2 separate regions of the Homo sapiens genome follow, and region 2 is linked to region 1. Evidence: promoter capture Hi-C in human tissues and cell types (Jung and others, 2019). All regions are on one chromosome and are shown on one strand. Each heading gives the region's core, a stretch centred on a gene start or on the middle of the fragment in contact. The rest is flanking DNA. Distances are from core to core; before and after follow the strand shown.

Region 1 (4,632 bases), core at 714-3,213:
CCCGTGGGCCGTGAGGCCTGTGGCCACGGGCGCCCCTTCGCGCTCGGGACTCGGTCCTCCTGCCCCCCGGGCGGCCTGGCTGAGGAAGGGGCATGGGTCGCCCCGCGTGCTAGAGCCCCGTGAGGTGTGGAGCATCCCCAGCGCCGCCGGGGGCTCTCGCGTGGAGCCGGCGCGCAAGGTCGCGGCGGGCTGAGCAGCTGCTGTGGGTGGCGGCCCGGCCCCGCCCTCCCGGCGCCTCCCCAGCCAGCCCCGCGCGGCGCTCACCTTGCCCGGGAAGGGCCCCGGGAGGAGCAACCTCAGGGCCTGCCTCTTGAGCTCCACCAGGCGGGCGTTGCAGTTCTCGCACCAGACGCCGCGGTCCGAGCCGGGGGAGGAGCCGCCGCCGCTGCCGGAGCCCGGGGAGCCTGTGCCGAAGCCCGGAGAGCCGCCCAAGGAGCCCGGCGAACTAGTGCCGATGCCGGGGGAGGCGGGTCCCGGGGAGCCGGTGAACGAGCTCGGGGACGAGGTGCCCGAGCCGGGAGACGGGGTCCCCGAGGAGCCGAGCGCTGAGCCCGCGCCCTCAGGAGTGGGCCGGCTGCCGGCGCGCGACTCCTCGTATGCTTTCCGGTACCAGCTTTCCGGGGAGAAGGGCGCTGCGGGCTTGGTGGGCGAGCAGACTTCATTCACCTGCGGGGAAGACACGCCGGTGTCAGGGGCTGCAAGGCGGCGGGCTGCAGCGCCCAGGAGCTGGGTCATACGTGCGCCACCAAGTACCCGCTCGAACCGCCCACGGGAGTCGGTTGGGGACCTCTCCAAGCCCTGCGGCCAAATTGCCCTCCGTCTGTCTCGTTAATTGTCCTTAAGTGAGTCCCCACCGCCCAGGTGACCCCTGCGCTGGTCCCCGGTGGCCTCCTCCTGGGGTCAGGAAGGGGACTCGCTCGGGGCCGTTTCCACGGCTTCTGCAAGGCGGGGGGGATCCATAGGTTCAGCGCCCCACGCTTTTGAAGCCGGCACCTATCCCAGCAAGATCCCGGGAACAAAATCCTGGAAGACCCTATGGGGGGGGTAGGGGGAGGGCTGTGATTTCAGGATTTTTATTCATACGGGGTCCAACTCTCCGGATCCTGCAGGTAAACGAGAGGCTCTCACGGCTCCAGCTAAACGATCCGAGGTACTGCCCAGCATTCATGGGAAACCCTCCCCTTCGGCTTCACTCTGCCTAGAAGTGCAGGAATGCGGCAAAAGTTACGGGTGCGTGGAAAGGAAGGAACGAGAGGGCTGAAAAAATTCCGAGAGCGAGGCGAGCGTGCGGGCGTCCCCGCGGCCGACCCGCCTCCGCGCACTCACAACCCCGCCAGCCCCGGGGGCGCCTCTGCAGCGGGGGAGAGCTCGGGGCCGGGGCCGCACGATCCCGGGGAAAGGGGGACCTCCGCCGAGATGGGTCTGGTAACGCGTCTCCGCGTCGTACCGTCACAACTTACCCCGTATTTCTTGCCCCTGGTGGAGACCGCAAGCCTCTCTTTATTCCCAGCTACCGAATTCATGGTGGCTTTTCCAGAGGAGAGTATCTAAAGGTTCCACCGACGCTACATCCAGAAGGTCCTCCAACCCAGAAGCGTCCCCCGGCTGCAGGGGGCTGGCTCTCAGCCCTCAGGGCAAGGTTTCTTCAGCGGTGGGGTGGGAGGGAATGAAAGCAAATGGATCCCACAAGTAATAGCACCAATTTGCAGAAAGGGTTGGGGTCGCTGGTTTATTCTTCTCTTCAAAGCATGCTTTTCCTCGTCCCCTTCTGCCTCTTCCAGCCGCACGTCCTCTTGTCACGGCCACATCCACAGAACTGGCATTTTCTTCAGCCAAGTCAGTCCGTGCTCCCCCACGAGGAAAGCGAGGGATACAATCAGGGCTCGCGGCCGCTGCCGGGAAGGTGGGAGAGCCGAGCCGAGTCAGCTGTGGGAACTTGTCTCCTTCACCGAGCTTGGTAACTGAGTTCAAAGAAATTCTCCCAAAATATAAAGATCCAGACTCGGGGAGGAGCCTCGGCGTGTCGCCGAGCCAATATCCGCCGGCCCGTTTCGCCTGACAGTTGCGCGAGGGCCGGGAGAGGGGCGGCTCCGCGTGGCCCGGGAGCGGTCGGCGGTCACAGCGCGCGTGTGCGCCCGGGCGCAGCGCGGAGGAGCCTCGGGAACCTGCCGCCCTCGCCGCGCCGGCCGGGATCCATTTTATGTGGCGGCGCTCGTGCCTGACATTGCGAGGCCTGGAGCCGGGCTGGGGCTGGGGGCGGGGGATCGTCGATCTCGCCGCGTGCGGGGAAGTTCCTGGCGCGCGGCCCGGGCCCGGGGCTCTAATGAAACGCCGCTGCGCGAGCCTGGAGCCCGGGGGCCGCGCGAGCGAGCGTGGCTGGACGGAAATGCGGTGCCCCAGCCTCCCCCGCCCCCAAGTTCTTTCTCTTCCTGACAAGGCTTGCAGGTCTGTCTGTGAAACGCCGTGCAAAAGGGATTGAGTCACAAACAAGTCCACAAACATGCCGGGTCCTCCCCCCGCCCTTTGTTCTCGGAGAGCTGCCGGGCAAACCTTTTCTGGAATTGCCCTACCGACCCCGGGCCGGCCGGGGGGCCACCCTCCCCGACCGCAGCCGCAGGACTAGGGCCCTTGGTCCCCCGCCCGCCCGAGCCCCGGTCTGTGATGGACTAAGCCGCCCGGGGCTGGGACAGGTGAGCCTGGTGACCCAGCGGGCCGCTGCCGGGCAGGGGAAACTGAGGGCTTCGCCGCGCTGCACGCGGACGACTCTGGCCTGGAGAGGGGGTGTGGCGCGAGCTGGCCTTGGCCTCTCCTTGCGTGGGATCGGGCCCCTCGCCCCCCGCCGCCCGTTTCTTCCTGCGCCTGGGCCCCGCGGGGTCTCCGGAGCACCCCGTCATCGCTCCCTCTCCGATCGCCCCCCGCCCCAGTCCCCCGGCGCAGCGCCCAGGAGCGCAGGAAGCCGGCGTATGCCAGGCTCCACACGTGGCTGCTCTGGGGTGTCATTTTTCATTTCACGGGAGGACATTTCTTCTGGTGAGCCAGCAGGTCTGTTTTGTTGTGACCTTTAATTAACACCCCGCGAGACGCCTCTGGAAGGACTGGCCGGGCGCAGGGATCACGTGGGGTGTAACGGCATCTCCGCGCCCGCGGGGAGACCCAGCCCGGGGGTGGGCGAGGGCGCGAAGGACGTTCAGGGCTTTCTGGTCGCTGACTTCCTTCTGAGCTGTGGACGACGCAGGAGGGGGCAAGAAGACAAAGGTTCGGGGTTCTGGAAGCCTGGGGCCACGCCCCCACTCTGCCTTCCTCGGGGACAATTTCTTCTGTGCCTCCCGTGCTCTGCCCCACTCCTCCCCGCTCCAGCTCCTGCGCGGGAATATTTCACAGCCACCAAAGCGAGGTAAAAAGGTCAAAAGGAAGATGGCAAGAACAGAGTGGACGTTTCCGTTACGTTCCCACTTCCAATTTAAAAGCGATCCTATCAATAGGGGACCTTAGGGGGCAGGTACACCTCCAGGCAGCACGCGCCAGCTCCCACCCGCATCTGTATTTCGCGTAGGTGCCGCGAAACACATCATCGCCATTGGCCACGAGCCGCTTATCAGCCAAAAAGCAGCGTGTGGTGAAACGAGCCGGCGAGGCCGCGGGTGGGGAAGGTGGGGTGTCGAGGGGGAGTGTTGGGGAGCTGCGCGATCCACCTCGGAGACGGGGGAGCCCAGAGCTGCTCTGATTTGCATTTCTAAGTAGCTGGGGGCCCAAAGCGTGTTTGGTGGGCTCCGAGCGCCCTCTGTTGATTAAAGTTTATAACCGGAGGCTCTGCAAGAGTTTTTAAGAAGCTTTCAAAAATTGATGTTTATGTAAAATGTATATACATAAGATGAAACGCACACATTTTAATTGTTAAGTTCTATGAATTTTGACAAACGTGTACTCTGCGTAGGCCACCACCTCGATCAACATCTATAAATTCCTGTCCCTCTTGAAGGTTATCTACCTTTTCCCAGGCAATCCCCACCTCTCATAAGAAACTACTGTTCTGATTTCTATCAGCATGGGTTAGTGTGGACTGATCTGGAAGGGTTTTTAATTCATAGAATCCGTACAGCATGTACTCTTTTGGGTTTGGCTTTTTTCACTTAACACAGGTTTTTGAGTTTCATGTTGTTGCTAGTATGGGTCTGTTTTCTATCTCTACTCTCTTTCATTCTTCTGTCTCTCATGCCTTTTTTTGTTAATTGAATAACTTTTCAGTATTCCAGTTTCATCTCTCTGTTGACTTTTTAGCTCTGATGATTATAATATGGATTTTTTTTTTGAGGCAGGGGCTCACTCTGTTGCCTGGGCTAGAGTGCAGTGGCGCTATTATGGCACACGGCAGCCTCCATCTCCCAGGCTCAAATGATCCTCTCTCCTCAGCCTCCCTAGTAGCTGGGACTACAGGTGCACACCACCACACCTGGCTAATTTTTTTTTTTTTTAAGTAGAGACAAGGTTTCCCTGTGTTGCCCAGGCTGGTCTCAAACTCCTGAGCTCAAGCTGTCTTCCCGCCTCCGCCTTCCAAAGTGCTGGGATTATGGCATGAAACCACCATACCTGGCCTATAATATGAATCTTTAACATTTCATAGGCTACTTAGAA
Region 2 (4,632 bases), core at 1,017-3,516, 1.0 Mb before region 1:
ATTTATTTATCTGAAAGTGTTTCTTCAAAGTGAAAGTTGAAATGTGTAGTAAACTTTCAAATAGAACTGCATTTTGTCTCAGTAGAAAATTCTCCATCACATATATCTCAATGACTTTGTGTCAAAACCTACTATTTTACCTGTCAAGATGATCTTCTTCCCTTACTGTGCATTTCAGAGGATGGAAGTACATAGAATGAAATTTTAGTGTCAGATACATCAATTACAAACCAACGGAGCTGTTTCATTTTGCACCAATGATGGAGAAAGAGAGTCAGGGGAAGAATGAGTCTATTTTTACCTTAAAGTAGCAGCATTCAGGATAAGATGTCTTCACTTAGAAATCAGTCATACCCTCGACTGTGGATCAGTGCAGGCTTTAATAATTCATTCTGAAACCTGTGCTTCCCCAGCTAGTGCTCCCTGGCTCTTTACTTATTTAAAGGTCTGTTTACCTCTCAGTTTGCACCTGCAACTGTCCATTCAATCTGCTGTGCATAACCAGTGGGGAATAAGCCCATTAATTAGAATAATTTAAGCATCTCAGCTTCCTGCAATCTTCAACCTAGTGGGGTCTCACTGGCAACATACTTCTTTATGAAGCTCATCTCTCATCTGAACCACAGGTCTAGATCCTTAATGCAGTGATCAGAAGCTTGCGATTCTGTGGCACTTGAAAATTTGGAAGCCCCATAATATATGGTCTGGTTTGCAGATTCTCAACGCAGTTCCACTAGGGATTGACACACCCATGCTAGTCTCTTGTGTAATTAACCACAACAACAGATTGTAGCAGAATATAAAAGAAGGAAGCTGACCTATGGGGGGGAAAAAAGACAAAGCTTATTGTTGTGGCAAGGAGGGACTTCATTCTTTTAGGACAGGCTATCCAGGTGACCTGATAATGGATATAGAGGAATTCCAGTATTGAATTAGGCCTTTTGCATCTGACAAAGGACAGGATTAAAAGGAATAACTTGGGAGGGAATGTCTGTTGGCATCTGTTTGCTTGATGATCCACCCATGATGCCTGACCGGATGAGAGCCTGTCTTTGGGAAGCTCATGAGTTTATAAGAAACAGAATTGCTGCTGTTTCTTAAACTAGGCAGTGTTCTGGTGAAGAACGTGGGCTCTGGGACAAGAGGGCCATTTGCTGGTTGTTTTCTCTTGTCGAGTTAATTATCGCTCTGCCTCAGTGTTCTCATCTATAAACTGTGAGTAGCCAGACCTCCCTGAAGGACACTTGCTGGCAAGGCCAAAACACAAGCTACAAACAGAGGCCAAGCAGTGGAGGCAGGGGGCGCCCCGAAGGGACAGGTGACAGGCAGTGATGCCAAGGGCAGCTCTTGTCCTCGTCCCAGACTTCGCTACTCATTGGCTTTGGTGATGTAAGCGCTAAGTAAAAAGCTACTGCTGTTCCAAACAGATGTGAGGCGAAGGTTTAAGCTTTGCGGTCTGCGTATGACCTTTTCATCTTTGCCCTCGTACCTCCTAGCATCCCTTTCTTTGTGAATGGTGCCTACGTTGGATTGTTTATCCAAACCAGACACCTGAGTCATTCTAGGGTCCTTTGTGTCACCCACCTCCATGATTCAGCAAATCACTAAATACGGTTTGTTCGACCTTTTTACCTGTGATTTCCTTTTTAGTGTAGGTAATTCCTCATCAGCCTTCAAATTCAGCTCAAATATGACCTCTTAAGGGAAAGCATTCTGTGACTCTCCCTTTCGTAGTCTGATTAAGGTGCCCGTTTTCTTTGCTCCCCAAAACACCTTGTAGATATTTTAGGAAACACAGCATTTCTTGCAAATGTTAATTTAGTTTCCTCCACTAGACTCTTAAGCTCCTGTGGGCAGAGACTGAGTCCTATTTGGTTTTATATCCCTAATGGTTGGCATAGTGCCTCACAAATAACAGGCTTTTAATGTTTATTGAAGGAACCAAAGAAAGTAGGTTTCTGTGAGTTCACCTTGGATCATAACCATGATATAGAACTTATTTTTATGGGGAAAATATGTTCTTACCTTCCCAATAACTCAGAGTTATAAGCTTTAGAGTATTAGCAGATGTCATTCTAAAAGTTCCTTTCTTTAGAATCTAAATTATTTAAAAAACTTAATTTTGTGTGCAGGTAAATTGCTTGTCTCTGCCCTCATCAACATCCCAGGGGCAGGATTTAAAAAAATCTTCACGTTGTTGTTTTATTTTGTTTCACTTTTTTCTTGCCCATTTCTGATACAAAAATGGGACAAAGAGCTTTCTGATGGAAAGTTATTATTAGCTCCATTTACTAGAAATGATTCATAGGCCCAAGGAAGTCTTTTTGCATGTAGTAAACACATAGTAACCAAATTAGGTATGTGAGCCAAAGGTTAAGAGCCAAAGTCAAACTTCCAGACCTTAACATTAATTGAAAAAAAAAAATTCTGTCCTTCGAACTCTGTAGCTCAAGATAAATGTGATTCTTAGAGGTCGATATATTTTTTTTTTTTTGAAGACATAGTCTCGCTCTGTCACCCAGGCTGGAGTACAGTGGCACAATCTTGGCTCATTGCAACCTCAGCCTCTGAGATTCAAGCGATTCTCCTGCCTCAGCCTCTGAGTAGCCAGGACTACAGGTGCGTGCCACCACACTAGGCTATTTTTTTTTATTTTTTATTTTTAGTAGAGATGGGATTTTCCCATATTGGCCAGGCTGGTCTCGAACTCCTGACCTCAAGTGATCCACCTGCCTCGGCCTCCCAAAGTGCCGGGATTACAGGCACGAGCCCCTGTACCTGGCGAGATGTGTAGTTCTTGGTGCTAACTATGAGCATCTTTAGGGCATGAAGCAGATCTTCACTTCTGTATTGCCAGCATTTAGTACAATAAGTGTTTGGTGAAAGATGAACCAATAAGTGAATGATTGTATTTCCTTTTCAGCTTTCATGAGAAATTATGTGATGATCAGACTGTTTGGTTTGATAACCTTTTATTGTAAAGGTAGTTTTTGATTATTATAGAGCAGCACTGGTTGATGGGCTTGAAATTTTATATTTTTCTTTAATCAGCATATCTACAAACAATCAGTGGAGTATTCCTTTTGGGTTGCCATTTTGAAACAAGAAACGTATGGAAATAAGGGACGAACATTATCTGCTTTCTCTTGGCTGTGTCCTGAAAGAATTGGAATTTGCTGTGGAGCAAAAGCTAAAGATTAAGCAATATTTTTTTCTTTTTAAAGTAATACCAGTATAATTGCTGGAATTATTAGTAATAGTATTACTATTATTCATTATTAAATTTCTCATTTTATTTCAATCTCTCCATCAGGAATGACTTGTGTAGAGTAAGGGAGTTTGGGAGGGAAGAAAGCTAATTCATAAATTCATTTTTCTTGTTTAATATACTGTTTGTTTTGGGCCAGGCACGGTGGCTCATGCCTGTAATCCCAGCACTTTGGGAGGCCGAGGCGGGCAGATCACAAGGTCAGGAGCTCGAGACCATCCTGGCTAACACGGTGAAACCCTGTCTCTACTAAAAATACAAAAAATTAGCCAGGCGTGGTGGTAGGCGCCTGTAGTCCCAGCTTCTTATGAAGCTGAGGCAGGAGAATCACATGAACCCGGGAGGCGGAGCTTAGAGTGAGCCAAAATTGCACCAGTGCACTCCAGCCTGGGCGACAGAGTGAGACTCCATCTCAAAAAAAAAACAAAAAACAAAAAACAAAACAAAAAAAAAACATTGTTTGTTTTGATGGTAACTTCATGTATTTCATACATTGTCATTGTAACACATTAACTAAGTGTGGGGAACAATGAACAATAAACCAAGAGCTGTTTCTCTGTTGTGATACTTCTTGTTGCCAAATTTGTGGGCTTTCATAGTTCAGGAAATCTTCCTGCACAACTGCTTTGAAAATTACTAAATGTTAATTACTATTCTACTGTTTTTAAAGGAAAGCAGAAAACACTGCATCTGAAAGTCTATTAAAAGAAACTAGGAGGGCTATTGGTTTCAATTTCTAATAGCTTTATAGTGTGTCCTGGGCATCCTTCTGTGCCGTGAGCGGGGGTCAAATTCTGAAGACTTAAGCCCTGAAGCACTTTGCCGGTATAAACAGATCTCTCACTGGGGCAGATTACTTACCTGGAGCTGTATGGAGCAGGATCAGCTAGAACATTACACCTTTTATATCTTACTTTGCCAAAGGTATCATTCACTTAGTAAGAGAAATGTTAACTTTTTCCATAGTTAGTAGCGATAGAAGCAGAGCGGATGGCACAATGAAGCCATCGGAGCCTTTAAGGCCCTTATTATTTCCATTGATTCGTTCAGTGAATGTAGGCTGCGTGCAATACCACATGAGTGGATATAGCCAAAGCTATGCCAGATTGATTGATGGATTGCCTTTAGTAAACTTGCAGTGTAATGAGGCCACAGTAATGTAGAAGAGGGAGTGACTCATGTATGGGGCAGTAAGCAGAAAGGATTAAAGTCTTCTGCACTTTGCATTTAAGAGGTCATTAGAACCCACCCAAAGCAAGGGTAGATTTAGTGCCTAATGATGTCACAGTACATATTATGAGAGGTTGGAAATTTGGGGAAATGGAGATGATAGCAAGTATAAAGGGTTTTTTTTCTAGCAACCT

The links. Contacts are between HindIII fragments. The study calls those that stand out against the background at their distance.
Region 2: a fragment that was not itself captured here is called in contact with the fragment with the promoter of KIF26B in region 1 in 2 of the 25 tissues and cell types used here (dorsolateral prefrontal cortex and hippocampus).

Annotation. Positions count from the first base shown.
Region 1 is chr1:245,152,316-245,156,947 of GRCh38, reverse strand. KIF26B (kinesin family member 26B) reads right to left here and starts at 1,963. Exons shown (of 15, transcript NM_018012.4): 1 at 1,461-1,963; 2 at 265-666. The coding sequence starts at 1,523. RefSeq lists silencers at 15-554, 2,422-2,621 and enhancers at 2,476-3,151, 3,152-3,827. The HindIII fragment of the contact is 11,465 bases long and covers 1-4,632 here.
Region 2 is chr1:246,153,850-246,158,481 of GRCh38, reverse strand. All of the region lies in intron 5 of SMYD3 (SET and MYND domain containing 3), which reads left to right. Among named protein-coding and RNA genes, the nearest start is that of SMYD3-AS1, 48 kb to the right of the region's middle. The HindIII fragment of the contact is 3,034 bases long and covers 750-3,783 here.